2 separate regions of the Homo sapiens genome follow, and region 2 is linked to region 1. The links are contacts of gene promoters, found by promoter capture Hi-C in blood cells and fetal thymus (Javierre and others, 2016). All regions are on one chromosome and are shown on one strand. The core of a region is centred on a gene start or on the middle of the fragment in contact, and the rest is flanking DNA. Distances in the headings are between cores, read along the strand shown. Region 1 holds the start of FNDC4 (fibronectin type III domain containing 4). Region 2 overlaps ZNF512 (zinc finger protein 512).

What was found. Contacts are between HindIII fragments. The CHiCAGO score rates a contact against its expected background, and 5 or more counts as called.
Region 2: a fragment that was not itself captured here is called in contact with the fragment with the promoter of FNDC4 in region 1 in 1 of 17 cell types (endothelial precursors); the score reaches 5.7 in endothelial precursors.

Annotation. Positions count from the first base shown.
Region 1 is chr2:27,493,940-27,497,037 of GRCh38, reverse strand. FNDC4 (fibronectin type III domain containing 4) reads left to right here and starts at 1,838. Exons shown (of 7, transcript NM_022823.3): 1 at 1,838-2,160; 2 at 2,335-2,491; 3 at 2,572-2,687; 4 at 2,904-3,098. The coding sequence starts at 2,359. It overlaps GCKR (glucokinase regulator), which reads right to left and starts at 199. Exons shown (of 19, transcript NM_001486.4): 1 at 74-199. The coding sequence starts at 133. The HindIII fragment of the contact is 2,667 bases long and covers 648-3,098 here.
Region 2 is chr2:27,602,201-27,605,398 of GRCh38, reverse strand. ZNF512 (zinc finger protein 512) reads right to left here. Exons shown (of 14, transcript NM_032434.4): 8 at 2,838-2,936; 9 at 2,092-2,259. Among named protein-coding and RNA genes, the nearest start is that of ZNF512, 21 kb to the right of the region's middle. The HindIII fragment of the contact is 8,004 bases long and covers 1-3,198 here.

The DNA.
Region 1 (3,098 bases), core at 589-3,088:
CGGGGAGGGAAGACTGGATGAAAAATAATTCTAGGAATCAGCACAGAAAGCCAACATGAAGAAGGGGTCTCACCTCCCACTTGCCAGGCTCCGGGGTCTCAATGACATGTTGAAACCGTTTTGTGCCTGGCATGGTCCCACGCTGTGGATACACTGTTCCTCCTGCCTCTTCAGCCACACAAACCCCTCTGGTCACAATGACTCTGCTTCCAGTTGGCAGGGCCTTATCTGAGCCCCAGTGATGATTAACCCAAGCACCCTGGGCTCTCAGAGCACCACCCTTTCCTGGTCACTAGGCCCCCAGCCCTCTGGTAACCCCAGGGAAACTCCTGGGCTTCCTCTTTGCAAGCACCCTGACTCGCCAGCCTCTGCTTTGGCCCCTGAAGAGGAAGACCTGAGGCTCGGGACTCTTGCCCTACCGGGACAATGCCCTCTTCTACAGAGGACCTGGAGCCTGGGAGTGCAGGACAACACCCACGGCAGTGAGAATCCCTGGGCAAGTGTCCTCCGAGGCCAGAGATCAGGGTCACCAAGTCAGCACAAGTCAGAGGACCTGGCCCATGGCTTGATCACATGCTCAGCACACACAGTCAGTCCCACTGGTCCCATTTTATCCTCTCCTCTCAGAAAGGAAGGCAGTAGAAGCTTCTGAGCCCCAAGTGTGCACACACTGTACTGGATATTACAGCGGGAAAAATCCCACAGAAACAGAAATACTGCATTGAGAATTAGAAACCAAAGAATCTGCCCTAAATACAATGTTAGCCAACATTTATTTACACTGAACAACACACTTTTCACAGACAGTATCTCATTGGATACACCAACACTAAGATGTTGGTCAATATTGACACCCTCATTTTTCAGATGATGAAACAGGCTCAGAGTAGTTTAGTTGGTTGCTTAAGATCACACAGCTGGACAAATTGGGACTCACACCCAGGTTCTCAATTCAGATTTCAAGCTCAACCAAAGCATGATATAATGTAAGGGCTTACATGTTATTGAACAAAGAAGTAACTAACAGATTGGTGCAAATTAATCTCCATCATCCAGTCACATAGTGTTGTGAGATTTATAAAGATCTTTCCCGTCTCATTTGAGCCTCACAACAACCCTGTGAGATTTCACACGCTTTGCTTTACAGGTGGGAAACCTGAAGCACAGATAAACCAGTTTCTCCAAAACCACACCGTAAGTGGTAGAGCTTTAGAAAAACAAAAAAAGAAAAGAAAGGAATAATAATTTTTTTAAAAAAGCCATAGGTCTTTGCGCTTTGATTCTCCCGAGAAGCCCAACACTCTTAACAATCACTGTATCTCCAGGTTTTAATATAATGCCAGACACATAGGAGATGCTCAATAAATATTTGGTGAATAAATGAAAGAATGAATGAGAAAGCGAACGGAATTAAATGAGATTATGAATGGAAAAGAGACTTAAAAGCTGACGCAGTCTACAAGTAAGGGATTGTTAAAGCAATTATTATCTCCCTCACTCTCTCCCCTCTCCTGTTAGCCCCTCGGGCACTGGAGGTGGAATTCCTCTTCCCAACTTGGCTCTTCCACGCGGGGAGGAAGGGGATCTCCCAGGTGCCGGAGACCCTAGCACCCGCGTCTCACCCCCCACGCCCCCGCCGACTCGTCCGCTTCAGCTGGGAGAGAGAAGGGATAAGGGATGGGGGCTCCGGAGGCGCCATTGGGAGGGTCGTGGGAGGAGCCCCGAGAGGACGGGAGTGAGGGGGCGGGAGGGGAATGACGGCGGCGAGAACCCCGGCTGGGCGGGGCGGGCCCGCGCGTCCCGGCCGGGCTGCGGCGGAGCGAGCGGGGCCAGCGCTGCAGAAGGCGGCGGCTGGCTCTCCGGGACGGTCACATCCCGCTGCAGGGGCGGGCGGAGGCCGCCGCACTGCCTCCCGCACCGGGGACCCAGGCCAGCGTCCGGGCAACGCCCCCTGCTCCCGGACAGACTCCGTGGCCCGCTCGAGCCCTGGGGGCTCCGCAGACCCGCGCCCGCTCCGCCCGCAGCTCGGCCCCGCGCTGCCCGCGTCGCCGGGCCCGCGCCGGGATGGGGTAGGGGCAGCGCCACCGAGTCGGGCGATGGGCCGCCCTCTGGGCACCGAGCAGCCCCCCGAGGCCTGACCAACCGCGAGGACCGGCGGAGGTGGGTGTGGGCAGGGCGGACCGCACTCTGGGGCCGCCCGGGCAATGCGGGGGCGGGAGGGCGTAGAGAAAATAGGGCTGTTGTGAGCTGTGGGGAGCCCAGGAGAGCTGCTGCCCCCCGACCTCCGTGCGTTCTGGGCAGTCCTTGACCCCCCACAACTCCTGCCATCTCCAGGAGCCCCGCCTGGATGTCAAGCGGATGCCAAGCGGATGCCACAGTTCCCCCCCCAGCGGACTCCGTGGGGACATGGCTTCGCTGGTGCCCCTTTCCCCATATCTAAGCCCCACGGTCCTCCTGCTGGTCAGCTGTGACCTGGGCTTCGTGCGAGCAGGTAAGTAAAGGGGAACGGGGCTGAGGGTCAACCACAGCTAGTCAATGGGTGAAACCTGTTAAACACCCTGGCTCCCGCAGACCGGCCTCCCTCTCCTGTGAATGTGACGGTCACTCACCTCAGAGCCAACTCGGCCACTGTGTCCTGGGACGTCCCAGAAGGCAACATCGTCATTGGCTACTCCATTTCCCAGCAAGTATGAATCACCCTTCTGCTCCCCCAACCTGTGTCCTTGGATTTCGGCACATTTCTTCACTTAAGTGGGGGGGATCTGGAAGCTGGCGTATCCTGGCTCAGGCTGCCCTTTTCACGCTACTCCCCCGGAGTGCTTGGATGTTGAAGAGTCTCTGGTTGAGCCTTGTGGCCTGGCACTGGGGTGAGGCTGTCCTCCTCTCCCCTCATCTCCCTGCAGCGGCAGAATGGCCCCGGGCAGCGTGTGATTCGGGAGGTGAACACCACCACCCGGGCCTGTGCCCTCTGGGGCCTGGCTGAAGACAGTGACTACACAGTGCAGGTCAGGAGCATCGGCCTTCGGGGAGAGAGTCCCCCAGGGCCCCGGGTGCACTTCCGAACTCTCAAGGGTTCTGACCGGCTACCTTCAAACAGT
Region 2 (3,198 bases), core at 478-2,977, 110 kb before region 1:
CACTGCAATCTCCGCCTCCTGGGCTCAAACCATCCTCCCGCCTCAACCTCCCAAGTAGCTGGGACTACAGGCGTGCACCACCCACACCCAGCTAATTTTTGTATTTTCTGTAGAGATGGGGTTTCACCATGTTGCCCAGCTGGTCTCGAACTCCTGAGCTCAAGCAATCCACCTGCATCAGCCTCCCAAAGTGCTGGGATTACAGGCATGAGTCATTGTGCCCAGCCCAAAAACCTTTGTGAATGTTTATAGCAGCTTTATTCGTAATCATCAAAAACTAGAAACAACCAAATGTTCTTCAACTGGTAAGCAGATAAACGACAAACTTGAAACATCCATATAATGAAATCCTAGTCAGAAAAAAAAAGGAATAAACTAATGATACATGCAACACATGGATGAATCACAAATGGATTATGGTAAATGAAAGAAGTCAGACTGAAAGGCTACATGCTGTATGATTCAATTTATATGACATTCTGAAAAGGGTAAAACTATAGGGTCAGAAAATAAATCAGTGGTTGCCAGAGGCTGTAGCTGGAGGAAAAGGCTGACTAAAGGGACACAAGTCAACTTGAGGTAGTGATGGAATTGTAAAACATCTTTTTTTTGTTTGTTTTGAGACAGAGTCTCACTCTGTCACCCAGGCTGGAATGCAGTGGTATGATCACAGCTCTGCAGCCTCAACCTTCTGGGCTCAAGTGATCCTCCCACCTCAGTTTCCCAAGTACTTGGGACTACAGGTGTACACCACCATGCCTGGCTTATTTTTTCATTTTTTGTAGAGACAGGGTCTCACTATGTAGCCCAACCTAGTCTCAAACTCCTGGACTCAGGCAATCCACCCACCTCAGCTTCCCAAAGTGCTGGGATTACAGGTGTGAGCTAAGGCACCCCGCCTAGTCTATGTGTTGAGTGTGATAGTGGTTACATGACTGTATACATGTGTCAAAACTCTTATAATTATGCACTAAAATGGTAAACATTACTATGTGTAAATTGTATCTTAACAAATGACTCTAAAAAAAAAGAAACCACAGGGTGGGAAACCTTGGAAATGTAATGAGAACAAAAAAATTTAAACCAAAAAAATGAGAGGAACCAGCTGGACAGATGCCCATAAAAGCTCTAGCTATGGGGGAATGCCTTTAGTTTTAAAAGTATAACAATGGGGCTGGGCACAGTGGCTCACGCCTATAATCCCAGCACTTTGGGAGGCCGAGGTGGGCAGATCACCTGAGATCGGGAGTTCGAGACCAGCCTGGCCAACATGGTGAAACCCCGTCTCTAATAAAAATACAAAAATTAGCTGGGCGTGGTGGCACGCACCTGTAATCCCAGCTACTCGGGAAGCTGAAGTAGGAGAATTGCTTGAACCCAGGAGGCGGAGGTCACAGTGAGCCAAGATTGCTCTACAGCACTCCAGCCTGGGCAACAGAGGGAAAGTCTGTCTCAAAAATATATAAATACATAAATTAATTAATTAATTAATTAAATAATGGGCTGAGCAGGGTGGCTCGCACCTATAATCCCAGCACTTTGGGAGGTCAAGGTAAGAGGATCACTTGAGGCCAGGAGTTTGCGACTGGCCTGTGCTACATAATGAGACCCCCGTCTCTACAAAAAATTAAAAACGAAGAATTAGCTGGGCATGTGACGCAAGCCTGTAGTCCTGGCTACTTAGGAGCCTGAGGCAAGAAGATGGCTTGAGCCCAAGAGTTCGAGGCTGCAGTGAGCTATGATCCCACCACTGCACTCTAGCCTGAGACAGCAAGATCTTGTCTCTTGAAGAAAAAAAAAAAAAAAAATATACACACACACACACTATATAAAAATATATAAGATATAAAATATATAATAATGAGTTTACTTCTGCCTGGACTATACTTTGAATTTTGATTTATCTAACCTAATAATGTTAAAAAGGCAGAAATAAGGACAAAGAACGAATAAAGAAGAGACAACACACAAGCATTCAGAGATTAAAAGAGGATACAAATGAGGAACCAAACACATATGGGAAGATAGAGGGGTAAGGACTCACCACGAAATACATCCCCACGCAGGGTATAGAAAGGAATCAGTACTCACAGGCCCATGCTCTGACCTCAGGTGATATGCAAGTCCAGCCTTCGACCTATATGGTTTTCCACAGTGGTGACATTTCAGGGTCATCTTTTCCAGCTCTGCAGCCCCTTTGCCACATTTTCTGACATGGTAGAGATATCCCATGATGCTGGTGAAGCTACTGGAGCAACTCTGAACAGAGGAGAGAAGCCTAAACTATAATCTTACATCTTTTGACATGATCCCTAAATTTCTAAACAGCCATAAAGCATTCACCACCACAAAATACAAATAGACCCTCTGATTTCAGTAGACCCTCTCCAACATCTCCCATCAGCACAACCCTTCCTTGTCTCTGGCCATCTTACTCTGATCAAGCATGATTTTCAATCAGCTTAGTCAGCCCTTGATAAACTATAACTGTGCATCTACTCTATGTCAGAGCTTTCTCCTTGGTCTGTGATCCAACCCCATCCCAATATCAAATACCCAGCAATATATACCAAAGTCCAGCACAGTGAGGGGTCACTGGGATCCTCTTCATCACATTAAAAAAAGGATGGTAAGGAAACCCCATCAAACAAAGGGAAGGGGGAGAAAAATAAATTTTTGGAAATAAGGAAGAAAATAAACAACTATTAATGATTCAAGAGACCAAGATAGTACAGAACTAGGAAGTCTACAATGAGGAAGAGAAGAAATGGAAAGAAGAACGAAAGACATTGACCTGAGAATTCAGGCAGAAGGAATTGCTGTCCTTGGGCCCTTACCTCACGCATGCACCTGAGCTTTCCCAGTCTCTTTAGAACTGTTCGGAGCCTTTCCCTCTCACTTGGCTCATCTATTTCATCTCCGGCTTTCAAAATGGGCTAGAAATCAAGAGAAGTAAACAAGAAGATGATTCATGGAAAAGATAAGACACAGGGAAAAAAAATATCAGAGGAGAATCAAGGATTGGACTGGCAGCTAAGCTGGTGCCAATGAAGCCCAAGTTTTCTGACTCCTGGTGTTCTCCATCTTCTCCTGGACAAAGGAAGTGAATATAATGGAAATAAGAGTTCTGAGCCTCTGACTCCCAAGATATGAACCTTTGGAGCTAACCTAAACACACAAATATTTATGGATTCACTG